Regions from separate parts of the Homo sapiens genome. Here region 2 is linked to region 1. Evidence: promoter capture Hi-C in 16 types of primary human blood cells and fetal thymus (Javierre and others, 2016). All regions are on one chromosome and are shown on one strand. The core of a region is centred on a gene start or on the middle of the fragment in contact, and the rest is flanking DNA. Distances in the headings are between cores, read along the strand shown.

The links. The method cuts DNA at HindIII sites, captures the fragments that hold promoters and counts their contacts. A CHiCAGO score of 5 or more calls a contact.
Region 2: a fragment that was not itself captured here is called in contact with the fragment with the promoter of AGO3 in region 1 in 2 of 17 cell types (M1 macrophages and M0 macrophages); the score reaches 5.8 in M1 macrophages.

What each region holds. Positions count from the first base shown.
Region 1 is chr1:35,929,730-35,933,804 of GRCh38, forward strand. It overlaps AGO3 (argonaute RISC catalytic component 3), which reads left to right and starts at 1,376. Exons shown (of 19, transcript NM_024852.4): 1 at 1,376-1,716. The coding sequence starts at 1,698. It overlaps AGO1 (argonaute RISC component 1), which reads left to right. Exons shown (of 19, transcript NM_012199.5): 19 at 1-803. RefSeq lists enhancers at 992-1,515, 1,516-2,040, 2,041-2,563 and silencers at 1,019-1,528, 1,539-1,878. The HindIII fragment of the contact is 14,155 bases long and covers 1-4,075 here.
Region 2 is chr1:36,059,244-36,063,751 of GRCh38, forward strand. It overlaps AGO3 (argonaute RISC catalytic component 3), which reads left to right. Exons shown (of 19, transcript NM_024852.4): 19 at 1-4,508. Among named protein-coding and RNA genes, the nearest start is that of TEKT2, 23 kb to the right of the region's middle. The HindIII fragment of the contact is 1,067 bases long and covers 1,615-2,681 here.

The DNA of each region.
Region 1 (4,075 bases), core at 126-2,625:
TCCCATACATTTATTGTTTAATATTATATGGTAAGTACTTTAAAATGGTAAATAGTAAATACTTGTGTTATTCACTAACATTTGGGGAGGATTTTCTCTGTGCTTTATGTATATTACCTAACCTTACAAACTGTGTAAGGTACATGCTGTTCTCTCAATTTTTCAGATAAGAAAATTGAAGCCCAGAGAGATCAAGTGACTGATCCAAAGTCCCACAGTGAGGGGAACTGAAGATAGGATATTCTTTCTCCTTTTCCTCTTTAAAAAATTATTTTGATTAAAAAAAACCGTATTACTGAAGCATAGGGACATGGGGAGAAATTATGAATGATTCCTCAGCCTGAATAAAATAGTATGTTTCATTAAGGCAACAAATATTTATTAAGGACCTAATATTTGCCTGACATTCAAGTGAGGTGGGGGGCACACAAGTAGTAAATAAATAACAGACTGGGCAAAGGGCTACCAAGGCAATACTGTAGTAGACTAACAGGTGCCCCACCATAGATGGGTGGTCCGGAAAAGGCGTCTCAGATGTCTTTCGTTGAGACGCAAAAAAAAGCTGTGGGGTAGGGCGTAAGGGGAGGGTGGAGAAGAGAGAGAGGGTTCCTGGCCAAGGGAACCAAAAGCAGAGAAGCTCCAAGTCAGAAAAAAGCAGCGGTTGGCCCGTTGGGAGAATTGGAAGCCAACCAGTATAGCTGTAGCACAGGCGGGGCCCATTTACGCCGTGCGTTTTCACCCTGGAAAGGAGTTTGGGTTTTCAAGTGTGACGAGGCGCTATTAAAGAGTTTTAAACATGGAAATTACTCGATCTGATGTTTGTGTAGTGTCCTGTTTGTTAGTCATCTTTTCCAAACTATAATACATTTTTTTTTTCCTAAAAATGGTCGTTAAAGCAGCCTAGGACTTAGGTCAATTGCGGTGGTCACTTGACCGCCTGTGAGGAGGCGGCGCGTGGGGTGGATCGGACTGGGCGTGGCGGGGGCTCAGGAAGGAGGGTGGCCCTACCCCAGCGGGCTCGGCTCGGGGCCTCCGCGGCAGTTCGGGGTCCTTCACCCGCCGGCTCCAGGTAGGCTACTCCTCAGGTAAGCCCCGCCGCCAGCCGCGACGTCGTCGCAGACAGGCACCGCCCCCACTCGTGCGGCGCGAGTAGTCCTGCCCCTCCGCGTTGTCTCCGGCCGGCACGGCCCGGCGGGGTACGGCCGAGCCCGCCGCATGTGGCCCGGCTCCCGGACACCTCCCCGGCGTCCTCCGCGCCGGCCGCTCCTGCCCCGACGTCGCTCCGGCACGGCTCGGGGCCCAGAGGCGAGGCGAGGACGCCGGGCAAGCCAGGCAGCGGAACTGACGCCGGCGAGCTTCCGGGGCGGCCCCGGGCAGGTCGGCGGCGGCGGCCCGCAGTCGTGGAGGAGCGGTGGGAGCGTCGGCGGCCGCGGGCGATGCAACTTCCGGACGGGACTCCCCTCTGTCCGCGCCTCACATCTCCCCTTCCTCTCGCCTAGTCCTGTGCCGTTTTCCGTCCGCGACTCTTCCGGCCCAGAGCTTTCGGAGTGCGGTTGCTCAGGGGAAGCCGTCGCCGCCCCCGCCTCGGGGCCGAGTGAGAGTGCCCGTCGCGTCGCGCCGCGTCGCCCCCCGGGCCGCCTCCTTGCCGCCAGTGGCGGGCTCCGTTCTCCCTCGAAGCACTCCCCCCAGCTCCATGAATGGAAATCGGCTCCGCAGGTGAGTCAGAGTAGCTGGGCCAGGTAGGGGATGTCACCCAGCTACTGTCCTCTGAGCATCCCTGCTCCTCCCGCCCGGCCCAGGTGCGCGAGGTGAGCGTCGGGCGGGCATCGCTCGGTCTCCCGCCCCTCGCCCTGCTCCTCCGCGACCTCCCCGCAGCCCAGCCCCAGTTCCCCGGGGGCCCCTGAGTCGGCGAAACTGCGAGGCGGGGAAACGCTTGGAGGATTTAAGTTTGGGGTTATCTAGGCGGCATTACTCTTTGCTGGAGTACCCTTCTTCTAGACTTTAGAATGGTTTGCCATTGTCTAGTTGGAGTGCGTGTCCTTTAGCCAGGTTGTGTGTTCCGTAGAGGCTGGGCAGCCAGCCAGCTCCCTTACCTACCTCTTAGGATAGTTGTGAAGATAGGCTGAGATAACGGATAACTTCAGATTAAGTTCGAAGGAGGTGTTGGTGCAACGTTAAATTCAACATGGCATTGCTCCTACCCTCGAGTTCTTTTCTGTTGTTTGTGGCAGCATGGTAGATAGTTTCTGAGGAGCTTGGAAATGTCATAGCAGCCTGGATCCCTGCTTATACGAGGAGGTGGTTCTTAAAATTGCTGACAGTATATTTTTTTTCATTCTCTATTCCTTAGAGAAGTAGTTGTCATATTCCTGGAAATTTGGAATTTAAGAAAACTGCTTTATCTCTGGGGGCAAGAGCAGCAGTTTTGCAGTCTTAAGAGAAAATTGCAACATGGATAGTACTTGTCCTTAAAAAAGGAAAAGTATTGTTTATGGTTCTAAAGTAATTAATTCAGGGACAGAAAGGTGTTGCATAACGGTTTGCCTAACAAATGATCATGCTTGGCTTATTAAATTTGAAAGTATGCTTCAGACGATCACAAGTTCGTAAATTAATTTTCAAAATATTTGCGGGGCTGTCTTGTTACTAATGGTGTTACAAGTTCCTGAATTCCATATCTCTTTTTGCCAATTTGATATAAGAAAAACTTACGTAAAAGAAACCAGTGACATAACGATAGCTAAGAACTTTGTTGAATAGATTACGTGTCAAATGGTTGCAAAAAAGCACTCAAACTGGGGAGATGAGATGGGGAGAGAGTTACAAATTTTTTTTTTTTTTTTTTACAAATTTTGTTACATGGAAGTTTCTCTAATCAATTTAGACCATATCTCTTTTTCCTGCTCCATTGTTTCGCTTTCCCCCATATCGTCTTAAAAGGTCTGTCTGGATTGTGAAAAGATTTCGACTCTTATTCAGTTTTGATTTGTGTATTTCTGAAACTGTCCTGCCCTTTTAAAAAAATTACCATACTACTGTTTTACTGTACAGGAGATGTGATTATTTGGGACCATAGGTGATCTTTGTACATAACTGTCCTGTTGTCAAGTCTGGAAAACAAGTCATGAAGGTCAGACCCTTTATTAATCATCCCAAAACTTTTAAAGATATTTCAAAAAAGTTTTTAAAGTTTTTTCTTTTTCTCCTTAGGGTTTTTCATATGATATTGTGCCCATATATATGGGAAATGTCTTAGAAAACATTTGTTACATCAAACCACCTAGTCAACTGGTACAACTAAGCCAAGTACAGCTCAGAAAATACATTTTACCTCTTCTTTTTTGGGTGTCCCATTGCTGAAATGGATACCCATTTAGCTGTCTTCACATTTGGGGAAGTGTGTAGTTAGATTATCAACTATATGCCTGGGTCTCTTGAAAAGTAAAGTTTTTTCTTCAGTACAGTTTATACATGATTGAATGTAGCCTAATAATGAAGATAAGCTATACTTTGGCTCAAGATTGTCATCAGAAACAAAATTTTCATTATTCCTGAGACTTGTATATAATTGGTATGCTTAGCTTTAAGTTGAAAGCATAGCTGTGCAACTAAATTTTAAATCCATAATTTAGGCTGGGTGTGGTGGTTCATGCCTGTAATCTCAGCACTTTGGGAGGCTGAGGAAGGATGATCGCTTGAGCCCAGCAGTTGGAGACCAGCCTAGGTAACATAGTGAGACCTGCCTCTACAAAAAACAGAAAACTTAGCCGAGAATTGTGGCACATGTCTCCAGTCCTAGCTACTTGGGAGGCTGAGGCAGGAGAATGGATTGAGCCCAGAAGGCAGAGATTGCAGTGAGCTATGATCGCGCCACTAACTCCAGCCTGGGTGACGGAGCAAGACCCTGTCTCAAAAAAAAAAAAAAAAAAAAAAAAAAAAAAAATCATCATTTGACACGTATTTTGATTTTAAAATTTTAGTATAAATGTTCTCAAAAAGTCTATTGACTCAGTATTGAATCTTGGCTTTCCAATTCTGCCATAAGTTTTTCTTTTTTGTGGAGATTCTCAGGAAT
Region 2 (4,508 bases), core at 898-3,397, 130 kb after region 1:
TGCTAACAAATTGGTATATTAATTACCATTGGTTCTTAATTACAAGAAAACTTGTGCTTAGAATTTTAAGATAAAAGGCTAAGTGACAAATGCTTCTTGAAATTTGTCCTATTTATTGTTGCATTTCTGGTGTAGAATTTCTAATCTTTTTTATTTTAAAAAAGTTTTTTTTTTTAAGTTAAACATGAAATTCACAGTGACCCTTCTGCTCCTGCCCTTGCTCACTAACTATATCATGAATGCTAGATTTTGGTCTTCTTTTTTCTGTGATGTATCTTACGAGACTGACTGTAAAATATCAGTCTGGCAACTAGATAATTGATTTTCATATGAAGAAGAGTTGGGAGTTTAATGTATATTCTTGATGGTTAATGTGTCTACATAAAGTGCTGATACATGTATTATATCACAGTATCAGGTTACTGGCATGGAGGACCATACACTTACAATATTGTAGCTGCTATATTTATTTAAGTAGATTCTGACAGTTACTGCACTAAACAGTAAGGAGATAAGCAGGATTCAAGGCTAGTGTTAGACCCTTTTTTTTCCTAAGAGTAAGGACACGGAATATCAAAGTAACAAAGGGTGCTGCCATTTTAGTTTCAATTTAATATCAGGATATTCTTTGTTTTAGAAATGTAGATTTTGACTTTTACAGTTTGAAAAAGGGTACCTCAGCCTCTTCAGTACTGGTTTTTTGGCACATTTCAACAGAAATATTAGATTCCCTTTCTTTTTCTTAATAGTGATCTTCTAACAAGTTTCTTGGAAAAACTATCATTCTAAGGGAAATCCCTGTTTATAACCTATTAATATATTTCTATTCCTAGAAGAGAGTCTAGCAGGGATTCTAGTAGGAATTACTGAGTGTTTTGGAAGGCACTTGATAGAGGCATCTCTGCTTTCCAGCACAGGGATTCTCAGCCTTCTAAAGATCTAGACCAGTTTCCAAGCTAGCTTCTCCACAGCCCACCACTGCCTAGTGTTTGCTTGTGTATTCTCTAATGGATTTTAGGAGGATAGGCCTTCTGACAGAGTCATGAAAGACTGAAGGCATGTCTAGGGAAATAAAACCTGACTTGCCCTTCAGCAGGAATGACTGGCAGCGGATCTCTGTGTTCAAGGAAAGGGTGAGCGCTAAGCATGCCAGTGATGGATCCGAAGTATTTAGATGGATTGCAGACCAGGAATTAGAGACCGTTTGTGACTCAAGGAACTTGATGGATCTGTTTAGAGCCCTACATGAATTTGCCAAGGGCAGTGATTTTTATGAAATTCAAGAAGCAAACGACTTCGATACAGCTAGAATATGTTGCAGTCTTCCTATTTCAAACTTGATTTTAATATTTTTACCAAGAAGTTTAACTGACAACTCTGCAAAATTTTCATTCAGTATCATTAAACCTGAGTTAAATGTTTGCTTAGCTTATCCTCTTAGATGTTCTTCTGTTGAACAGGCAGGTTGCCCTTAACAGTAACTTGCTACTTAAATTACCTTTTATTAGTTAGTCAAGCTGCAAAAATATCATTAGTGTGGCGTCTTTATTTTGGCTTTATCCATATGAAGTATTCATTATTTTCATTCTTTTTGAGAATTCATAAATGTCTTAAAGCTTCAGTAAGAATTGTTGGGAGGTTTGACATCAAGTAACGCCTTCCTGTGTAGCAGTATAACCCTAATTTAGAACTCTTGTTTTCCTATTTCAGTCCTCATATTTGATCATAGAAAAGCACTTTTGTGATTCTATAGGAGTCAAAAAATCAGCCAAGAGTAGGTAAGTCAGTCAGCACAGAAATCAGAAAGTGAGAATTTTCTCCAAAAAATCTTTTTAAAAAAGTCCTGCTTATACTAAGAACATTCTTGATCCGTTGCAGTGTTAGAAATGACACTGTGATTAGTGAAAGCCAAGCTGAGTCCCAGGAAGCAGGGAGGGGGAGTGTGTGTGTGTGTATATGTATGAGTGTGTATATATATAATCTCACACACACACACAAAGGGAAAAATTATTTTGACTTTTTTCCTACTTTTAAAATGGTACATTTAAGTTTATAATTTTCCATGTCAGTCAACATAATTTTTTAAACTAAGGTATAATGGTCAAGGCTTGTGCTAATATTACCTACTACTCATTGAAATTTATATTACTTTACCCATCAAAACTAGTACTCCAGATGTTTACATCATTGATTAAATCTCAAGAATCTTTTGTTCTTAAAATATGGAAGTTAAAGATTTTAATTTGAATTAAAGATAGAAGGATGGTAAATTCAATATAGAGGGTTGAGATTTACCAGTGAGAAACCCTGTTGAAGTATCAGGTAAATGGTGTGACAAAATTAGAATCCTGTCAAATCACCTATCCAGCCATCGGGGTCCCTTCCTTTTTTAGACTAATTTCTAAGGTAACCAGAATCTAATGTATCTATGTTAGGGTCTCAGTAAAGCAAAGACGTTTGTCAGGGCGTAGACTCTTGAGTTAAATTTTTTAATCATTTTTTAAAGCAAGGCGGTTCTTAGAAAGTGCCTTTTCAGAAGATGGTGCTGTAGATTTTTATTTTTCAAGTAGCACGAAGCTAAGAATTTTAAAGATAAATTATTTTAGAACTCCAAGAGTGTGACAGTTTCATAAAAATAATGTTAGTTGTTGTCTTGAATCTCGTCCAAGGGAACCAAGGAAAGCTTTTATGCAGTAAAGTATCTAGGTAAATGCTCACCAAATTTATTTTGTAAATTTGAAAACAAAATATTTAGTAGAATTACCTCTTTTAATTCCCAACTGTGTTGGAGGAAATCCATAATGCACATAAAACAGCAAACCTACTTAACTTTTTAACAAGATTATGGGTATAGTACCAATGTCCAAAGGGAAATGTAACTTGCCTGGAATCATAGGCAACATTTTCTAATTAATCTTTTTTTTTTTTTTTTTTTTTGAGACAAAGTCTTGCTCTGTCACCTAGGCTGGAGTGCAGTGGCTCAATCTCAGCTTACTGCAAACTCCGCCTCCCGGGTTCAAGTGATTCTCGTGCCTCAGCCTCCCAAGTAGCTGGGATTACAGGCATGCACCACCACACCCGGCCCTAATTAGTCATTATTAAGGAGGACTGCTCATAAAGGCAGTACCAAATCATCATTCAGATCAGCTTAAGTGAGAAAGCAAAATGATAATCTCTATTGTTAGAGAAATTTTCTTTTCTAGACACCAAGGAATATTTTAAATGATTTTTTATTTTTTCTAGGATGCAGGAACTATGAAAAATGATGACAAGGCATTTAAAAGGGTATGATCAGTTAAATAGAAGTAGGGTCTGCAAATTGTGCTTAAGGGGAAATAAGCAAAAGAAAGGAAAATAGTAGAACCTTTCATACTAATTAGAAATGTAGTTACCTACCAGAGGGCAATTTTGCTCCATACCAGGAAGCAGTAAATAGCAGTAAATGATCACCTAGGCACTTCTTTCCTGTGAATTTGGTGAGCATTCTTCCAGAAAAGAAGACTAAAAGCAAACAACAACAACAACAAAAAATACCACACCTCAGTAACCTTGTATGCTGCATTATATAATAATGATAGTAAAATTATATTGTTTGGAGTGTACTGTGTCTGTTTGCAAATATACATGCACATTAAACTTTTTTGTTTTTATAATGTCTTAATAGCAATTATGAGTTTATTTTTGTTAAGATTAATTTTTCTATTGTGATGTTTATATTTATTGGCAATTTGTATGCAACTTTTATATTTTGCTTGTCGGTTTTAAGGTATTTTATTTTTATAGATATTTCTAGCTTTCCTCATTCTTTGTAATAGCAGCAAAGATTAAGATGGAGTGTTAATATACCAACCAAACTACGAATTCCATAAACTCTAGAGTTTGGATTTTTACCAATAAACCATTAACACTATTTTGTAACTTAGAATATTTAATGTTGTTTATATAGTGGGCATTAAAGACAGTCTTTAGACAGATTTCTACATGTGGAGGGGAGGTGGGGCTTTCCTGTAAGTTTGATCCTTTTTTTCCCCTTTAGTAGCAAACTAACATAACAGATTGGATTTATTTTACCTGACTACAGTTTTGGGGAAACCTGTCAAATAAATAATTGTTACATGCCTTTTTTTTTTAAATTTAAGCACATTGAAACTGCTTAAATGGTCACATTTTTCAGCATTAGGATTAAGATACCATTTTTGTAGGCCTGGAAAACAAATAGCAAATGATTCAAAATTCATTGAATTGACTTTGAAATGAAACTTTTCCCCCATAATTTGTTATATGGAAGATTTGCTACCCTGATCTTTTCCCTAGCATACTTCTAAAGTTGATTGAATCCCTGAGTATCAATGAAGAAATCAGAGTTTAAGTGGCTAGGGAGAGCCAGGTATAAAGACTGATTAATAGAGTACTTCAGCTAATTAAAAATTTAAATAGTAATAATTTATGAATGTGAATAAATTGGAAGGCAGCAAAAAGCATGATTATAGAATATTAAGTTCAATTAT